2 separate regions of the Homo sapiens genome follow, and region 2 is linked to region 1. Evidence: promoter capture Hi-C in 16 types of primary human blood cells and fetal thymus (Javierre and others, 2016). All regions are on one chromosome and are shown on one strand. Each heading gives the region's core, a stretch centred on a gene start or on the middle of the fragment in contact. The rest is flanking DNA. Distances are from core to core; before and after follow the strand shown.

Region 1 (4,217 bases), core at 1,102-3,601:
GTAAATGTGTGAGTCACGTTCTTGGCCATCCATGTGCCCAGAGCCTGGACAGGGCCTGGTGGGCAGCCAGGAAATGGGTCTTGGATGGTTGCATGAATGAACAAAGGGGCACACAAACCCACGGCTGCAGAAGGACGCCGACCTCCAGCGACATTCGACCTCCTCCTCCTCTCCCAGCCTTCCCTCCTTCTCTGCCCACAGTGCAGGTGCAGTGCCAGGGGGCCGACGATGTTGCCTGGAGTTCAGGGTAGGAGGCTGCTGGCCTGGGGTTGCCACCTTCTCCCTGGGGACCCAGCCACAGGCACAACCTGCACGGGCACCTCTGTCCTGTATCACCAAGGCCTGGACATGGCGGGGTGGGGTCCCTGGCCAATGAGCCAGGGCAGGCAGGCACGAAAACTGGCTCAGTCCAGGAGGTCGCTTGGCTTTGCTCAGGGAGGAACTCAAGGTCGAGCCGGTGGTGTTAGACAGCAGCTTTGATTGAAACAGCCATGCATGGCAGATGCAGAGGGACCCCTCCTTGTGAGGCAGGGCTCCCCACAGGCAGTGAGCCCAGAGCTCACATTCATACCTGGAGGCTGCAAGTTCAAAATCAAGGCACCAACTTGTTCCACGTCCGGAGAGGACTCACTTCCCGGTTCATAGACGGCACCATCTCGGGTCCTCACATGGTGGAAGGGGCAAGGGACCTCCCTGGAGCCGCTTGTAGAAGGACACTGATCCCCCAGCAGAGCTGCAGCCTCACGAACTTGCCATCTCCCAGAAGCCCCGCCTCCTAACATCATTGCCTGGGGCGTTAGGATTTCAACGAGAATCTGGGGTAGACACAAAAAACATCCAGACCACAGCACAAAGCAGCTACACATGTCCACGCACACATGTGCACACACACACGTGCAACACATGCACACACAGGCACACACATGTAAGACATGCACACACATTCGTATCCCCACACACACACACACACACACGTGCACACAGTCCCCACACAGGCACACACAAAACACACGCCAGCAGCAAGCAGACCCCACTCACAAAGGGCCCAGCCAGGAACAGGGAGGTGGCCGGAGGAGGGGCCTCCACGAAGTTCCCAGGCCAGCCAGAGCTGGAGTGGCCCATGCTGACCACAACCCCCTCCCAAGAGCCTGGTCCTGAGTGGGAGGGCATCGTGGGGCCAGAGATGACCCAGCCCTCATCCCAAACCCAGAGCTGGCCACCAGCCACCAGCAGGGGCCCTGCCAGGGAGCAGGAAGTCCGTCCTCCCCTCGCGGCAGCGGCTACAGGCCAGGCTCCCAGGCTTCCTCCTCTGAGCCCCGTGCATTCCTGGGGTACTCGGGTGCGCTGGGGATCATGGCCCCAAGGACTCGGGAACCCCCGCTCTGCTTCCGTGCAGAGCTAAGACAGGCTGAGGATGAGGCAGAGGCGGAGGTGGAGGCGGGGAGGAGGGAGTGGGGAGGGGTCGTGGGTAGGACACAGGGGGCAAGGCATGAGGGGGTCAGGGCTGTACCCCGCAGCCACAGTGTTGCTGTCCAGGGAACACACACGAGACCACAGTGTGAGGCTGCTCCAGCACCTGGGCCGTGCCACCCGGGGCCAGGCCAGCCCCCAGCCTATTTGCCCCCCTGGGCTCCACCTGGCCGGGGGCACCCAGCCTACCTGGAGACTGGAGAAGCCCACTCACAAGCACTCACAGACCCCGGGCAGACTGCGCAGACCAGAGGCCCAGCATGCGCCCAGTCCCCCTCAAGCAGAAGGCCTGCTTCCCCAGGCAGGGCGGGGCAGGCTGGGCGGGTCGCTTCCCATAGCAGCTGCTGGATTTCTGTCCACTGGGTTCTGGCAGGGACAGCTCTTGAGCTTATTATCCCCAATTTACAGACAGGGAAACCGAGGCCAGAAAGGGGACTGTCACCTACCTATGGTCAGCCCACGGTGAGCTGAGCTGTGAACAGCAGGAAGGACCACTCTGTGTCAGAGGCCCTACCACCTGTCCCGAGGTGGCGAGACAGCACATTTGCTCACTCCCACCTGCAGCCCCCGACCCAGGCACCCCTGCAAGCCCCCCACCCTTCCCCGCCCGGGCCCTCCGTGTCACAGGCACCAAACTGGATTCTCAGTGCTAACCAGCTTGGCTCCTGCAGCCCAGCCTCACAGTGATTATGAGGAAACAATCCCAACTCTATGTGGCTTCAGACCCAACCTGTCCGGCCACTTTCTGCGAGATGGCAGAACCCGCCTGGCGGCTCAGGGCAGTCTCTGCCTCCTTTCTGCTCCTGGCTGGGAGAATCGAAAACCTGTCAAGCGGGTTTGGCCAAAATCCTGTCTTGTTGCCTGTGCAGGTTCACAGCCCGCTCACTTCTCTCTCCCTGTGAAGAGCGTGGGGGACTCCGCGCAGAGGTCGACAGAGGTTGAGGCAGGGCCAGGAGCCATGTGAGTACCCGGGACCCCGGGGCCAGGCCACCCAAGTAGCCGGGTGAGCTGGGATCCCTGGCTGGGGTGCTCACCAGGGAGGCTGGAGGCCCAGCTTGGACTCCTGCGAGGAGAGCCGCGGGGGTGGGTGGGACTGGACGTCTTCCCTAAGGGGTGGCACAAGGCTGCTCCTGGTCCAGGGACCTAGCAACGGAGAGAGCTCAGTGGGCGTTCCTGGCAGGAGCTGGGTGCAAAGAGGCCAGGCCTAGTCTGGCACCAGGGCCCAGGAAGTGTCCATGGTCTGCTGAGGGGCTTGGGGCATCAGGGACAGGCTGGTGGCCTCGCCCTCCACCCTGGGCCTGTCCCGCCCCACCATCCAGGTTCACAAGAGGATAAGCGGGCGCAGCCACAGGGGTGAGGGTGGTGCAGGGGTGCAGCACCCGCAGCTGGGCACTGAGCAGGGGACTCCTCTGCCGCTGTGTCTGTGGGGAAGCAGCCACAAAGGCGGGCCTTGCTCAACCCCCTCCCCCACGGGCCAGGCCTCAGGGAGCCAGCCGGCAGGGCAGGAGAGCAGCCCGGCCCACCTCCACCTCCGGGAGGGAGTCAGGTTGCAGGGCTGCTGTGCCTGAGCTGCAGGGACACCTCGGCTGGCTCCTCTGTTTATGTGTACACACGAGTGCACGGGCGCACGCGCGTGTGGGGTACACGAGTGCATGTGCACACACAACATGCGTGTGCAGCTGTCCCGGGGGCCCTGCGGCGGTGTGTGCACAGGAGCCTGGGTCAGGGCTCACCACCAACATCTGTTCTACAGTCACAGAAACTGAGGCACGGCCAGACAAGCGACCTGGCCGAAGTCTCCATGGGAGAGGCTTTGCCCATTACCACAGAGGGTGGGAGGAGACTCTGAGGCCATGTCCAGGTCCAAATCTTGCTCCACCTGCTCATCTCTGATCTGCTTCAAGCCTCAGTGTCCAAACCTGTAGAATGAGACAATCAGCACTTCCTCCAAGGCCAGGTGGGCCCCGGCCACATGCATGTGCCCAACCTAGCTATGCAGTGGGTGTTCCACAGGGGCAGCCAGGAGGTGGACAGGGGCAGGGGAATCCCTTGGGGAGAAGCGGGTCAAGGTGCAGAGGGCACCACTCTGAGCTTGGCTTCCTCAGCAAAGCTGCAGGATGGTTTCAGTGCCCATGCAAGTGGGAAAAAGCCTGGTGTGGTGCTTGACACAGAACAGTATGTGATCAACAGCAGCCACTGCCACTGCCACTGCTAATGCCACTGCCACTGCCGCTGCCGCTGCTTCCACTGCCACTGTCACCACTGCCACTGCTACTGCTACCACTGCCACTGCCACTGCTAATGCCACTGCCACTGCCGCTGCCGCTGCTACTTCCACTGCCACTGTCACCACTGCCACTGCTACTGCTACCACTGCCACTGCCACTGCTAATGCCACTGCCGCTGCCACTGCCACTGCCACTCCCACTGCCACTGCTACTGCCACTGCCACTGCTATGCCACTCCCACTGCCACTGCTACTGCTACTGTCACTGCCACTGCTATGCCACTGCCACTGCTATGCCACTGCCACTGCCACTGCTACTGCTGTGGCCATCACCGTTGCTCCTGGATAGGTGGGCAGTCAGTCAGATGGACATACAGACAGCCCAGGCCTCAGAGACGGAGGGTACCAGTGTCCAGCTCCGCACTCCTGCCCCAAAGAGCCTGCTGGGGGTCGGTGGCTGGGGTGGAGAGCAGCCGGCCTGGCAGACGTCCTTGGAGCACTGGTGCCCAGGCGGCTTCTC
Region 2 (4,147 bases), core at 1-2,500, 330 kb before region 1:
TCGCGGGTGGCATTGCTGGAGAGGGTGTGGTTGCTGGACACGCTGTCGGCCTTCCTCGAGAAGGCTGGCCTCTTCCTCCTGCGCCGCCACACCGGGCAGAGGCAGGCCAGTGTGGCCAGGAAGATGTGGCGGAAGTTGGCAGAGACGAGGTTGTACAGGATGGGGTTGATGGTGGAGCTGACGTAGAAGAGTGCGTTGGTCACCATGTAGAAGTAGTGGTAGAAGTCATAGAGGAACCTGCGGGGAGAGAGAGGCGCTCAGATCCCAGAGAGAACTCTTGAGGGCCCCAAGGCAGGGTGACAGCCGGGGCCACAGCGGCTGAGGGACGTGGTGGCTCAGACGCTAATTAAAACACCCCTTGAGAATGGTTGTTTGGGGACATTTCATAACAAGCTCCAGGGTCTGGCTTCTCCTGAGCAGCTGCAAGTTCTCGTCGTGCTCCCGCCCAGCCTGGGCTGCTGCTGCTTTTTTTTTTTTTTTGAGACGGAGTCTCGCTCTGTCTCCCAGGCTGGAGTACAGTGGCGCGATCTCGGCTCACTGCAAGCTCCACCTCCCGGGTTCACACCATTCTCCTGCCTCAGCCTCCCGAGTAGCTGGGACTACAGGGACCCCCCCACCACGCCCGGCTAATTTTTTGTATTTTTGGTAGAGACGGGGTTTCACCGTGTTAGCCAGGATGGTCTCGATCTCCTGACCTCGTGATCCACCCACCTCAGCCTCCCAAAGTGCTGGGATTACAGGCGTGAGCCACCGTGTCCCACCCAGCCTGGGCTTCTTTAGGTGGAGCGTGGGCTCTGCTTGTCCATCCCTGCCTCTCCTTGCAGCTGCCTGCATTGCCCTTCGCAGCTCTGTGCATCCAAGGGTCCAGGGCTTGGCTGGTCCCGGCCTAACCAAACAGCCAGGGCAGTAACCCCCTCCACACCTCCCCAGCAGCCACACACCTTGCCCTCAGCTTGTTGCCTCCCCCCACAGTGATCTCACTCCCTCACCAGGCAGCTCAATTACTACCAGTCAGCCCTGAGTTTCAGAAGCTTTTGCAGGGGCCACACTCTGTTCCCCGTGCCTTCTCCTCCTCATTGGTCGTAGGTGCGCCCTCCCTGGTGGTTGTCACTGGAAGGAACCTTTTATTCTGGGATCTGGCAGCCCCACTGCACAGAAAAGGGTTCACAAGTGGGCCCCAAGCTGCCATCTCAGGATGGCCAGCTGGCAAGGCTGGCCTCTGGCTGGTGCCTGGGGCCTTGGATTTTGGGAAGGCTCTGCCATTTTTGGGTGAGAAGGGCTCCCTGCCCCTGAACTGTTGGTGCAAACAGTAGGGGTTTTGCCAGGCAGTGGGTGCCCCTGTGATCGGCCCCCATATCGTCCTGTGAGGCTCCTCTGGGAGGGGGCCCTGGAAGCTGCATCTGGTCTTCCGCTGACCCCACTCCATGTGTCTTTTCCCTTTGCTGACTTTGCTGTATAAGCAAAGCTTTGTCAGTATTGGTGCTCTTGCTGCGATAAGTCACAGCCCTGAGTATAACTCCAGGCTGAGCCCTGTGGGTCCAACCTGGGTGGCCTTGGGGCTCTGACAGCTGCCATATGAGGAGGTGACACCCCCACCATGTCCCCAGCAGAGCCAGGGATGTCTCTCTTTCACCTTCGGGAAACTGCCTGGGCCATCTCTCTTAGGACCAACTTTCTTTCTCTGCACCAGTCTGGCCTGAATAGCCCCTGCCTTGAACCTGTCCCTCCATGGCCTTCTCCCGGCCCCAGTCACAGCACAACCCTGCCCAGGGGGTCGCCGGGGGACTCACCACACCCCTGCCCTGAGTGGATCCCCTCAGCAGTGCCTGCCACACCCACCATCTGTTTTGGGAGCACTTACTTGTCCAGCACCCAACTTCCTGGTTCCCGGTACTCACGGAGTCCACTGCTCATCCGAGATGTAGCAGAACATGAGGCGCCGCACGTGGTAGGGCAGCCAGCAGACCACAAAGGCGATGACCACTGCACCTGAGGCACAGAGACGTGGGCTCAGAGACCCACTGCACCTGAGGCACAGAGGCGTGGGCTCAGAGACCCACTGCACCTGAGGCACACAGATGTGGGCTCAGAGACCCACTGCACCTGAGGCACAGAGACGTGGGCTCAGAGACCCACTGCACCTGAGGCACAGAGACATGGGCTCAGAGACCCACTGCACCTGAGGCACAGAGACGTGGGCTCAGAGACAGGACATGGGCTCAGAGACCCACTGCACCTGAGGCACAGAGACGTGGGCTCAGAGACCCACTGCACCTGAGGCACAGAGGCGTGGGCTCAGAGACCCACTGCACCTGAGGCACAGAGGCGTGGGCTCAGTGGGGGAGACATGGGCTCAGAGACCAGACACAAGCTCAGAGAGGGAGAGACGTGGGCTTGGGGAGGGAGCATAAGCTCAGAGACAGGACACAGGCTCAGAGACAGGACACAGGCTCAGAGAGGGAGAGACATGGGCTGAGGGAGGTAGACACTGGCTCAGAGACATGGGCTTAGAGACACAGAGATATGGCCTCAGAGAAGGAGACACGTGGTCTGAGGGAGATGCAGGGAGACATCCCATGTTCATGGATTGGAAGATTTAATATTGTTAAGGTGTCAGTACTACCCAAAGCACTCTACAGATTCAATGCAATCCGTATCAAATTTCAAGAATGCTTTTGGCAGAAATAGAAAAATCTGTGCTAAAATTCATATGAAATCTCAAAGGATCCCGGACAGCCAAAACAATCTTGTAAGAAAATAAAGTTGGAGGTCTTACACTTCTTGATTTCAAAACTTACTACAAAGTTACAGTGTGGTGCTGGCATAAAGATAGACACGTAGACCAAGGGAATAGACTAGAAATCTCAGAAACGAACCCTTACCTTTATGGTCAAGTGATCTTCACCAAGACCATTCAGTGGGGAAAGGACAGTCTATTCAACAAAGGGTGTTAGGAAAACGGGACATCCACTTGTATGAAGGTGGATCCTCCCCTCACACCATATACAAAAATGGACTTGAAGTGGATTAAAGACCTGAACATAAGAACTAAAACCATAAAACTCCTAGGAGAAAACATAATTACTTTACAACATTGATTTTGGCAATGATTTCTTGGGTATGACACCAAAAGCACAGGCCACAAAAGAAAAAAGTAGATAAATTGAACAACATAAACACTGAATTTCTGTGTATCAAAGGATGCCATCAGGAGAGTGGAAGTCAGCTCACAAAAAAGGAGAAAATATTTGCAAATCACATCTGATAATGAGTTAACCTTGAGAGTATAACTCCTAAAACTCAACATGAAAACAAACAATCCAATTCACAAATGGGCAAAGGACTCAGACATTTCTCCAAAGAAGATACAAATGGTCAACAAGCACATGAAAGATGTTATTAATCATTAATCTTAAATCACTGGAGAAATGCAAATCAAAACCACAACGAGATGCCACCTCAAATCTATTAGGATGGCTACTATTAAAACAACAGGCACACACTGGGACCAGGACACACCTTGGATGTTGGCAAGCCAGCCGTCCTGAGCTGGGGCTGGTCCTCAGGGTTCCGATAGGATGGGCGTTGCCCTGCTGTGGGCTTCGCCAGCCCTGAGAGCTCCGTGTCCAAAGCCCTGGCTGGTTCCCATGAGCAGGGAAGGCTGAGCCCAGAGCCAGGCTCTCTTAGGGTAATGTGCTTGGCTATGGGCCTCTCCTGTGACTGGCCACACCCTCAAACAAGCCCTGAAAATGGGCCAGCACCAGGGAGGAGCTCAAGCCAAATGCTTCAGGCAAACCAAACTGAAGACCTGGGTCTCAGGCATGAAAGGGCTTCATTCTCTCCAGTTCCCATCACACTCTCCAAGCCCTGTGTTGTTGGCAGCGTCTGCCCTGCCCCTGCCCCGCCTTCTTGCCAAGCACCTCCCACCACAGGGCCTTTGCTCCAGCCATCCCCTCGCCTGCAGCTCTGTTGCCCAGATGGGCTCCTGGTCCTTGGGACTTGCAGGATGCCACCTGCTCTGAGAGCCCCTCCCAGCTGCCAGATGTAGTCAGGGGTGGTGGTGGTGGTATTTTTTTCTTCATGCTCATCACTGGCTGAAGGTGCCTGGTGCCTGTGTTTGTGTCCTTGGTGGAGCCCCTGTTCCCCC

Evidence for each region. The method cuts DNA at HindIII sites, captures the fragments that hold promoters and counts their contacts. A CHiCAGO score of 5 or more calls a contact.
Region 2: a fragment that was not itself captured here is called in contact with the fragment with the promoter of RBBP8NL in region 1 in 1 of 17 cell types (M1 macrophages); the score reaches 5.8 in M1 macrophages.

The regions. Positions count from the first base shown.
Region 1 is chr20:62,425,673-62,429,889 of GRCh38, reverse strand. It overlaps RBBP8NL (RBBP8 N-terminal like), which reads left to right and starts at 2,351. Exons shown (of 14, transcript NM_080833.3): 1 at 2,351-2,430. It overlaps LOC105372710 (a long non-coding RNA gene), which reads right to left and starts at 2,060. Exons shown (of 4, transcript NR_187662.1): 1 at 1,917-2,060; 2 at 572-815. RefSeq lists a silencer at 2,843-3,137 and an enhancer at 2,752-3,511. The HindIII fragment of the contact is 11,585 bases long and covers 1-4,217 here.
Region 2 is chr20:62,756,108-62,760,254 of GRCh38, reverse strand. It overlaps NTSR1 (neurotensin receptor 1), which reads right to left. Exons shown (of 4, transcript NM_002531.3): 3 at 1,899-1,989; 4 at 1-237. Among named protein-coding and RNA genes, the nearest start is that of LINC00659, 19 kb to the left of the region's middle. The HindIII fragment of the contact is 434 bases long and covers 1,034-1,467 here.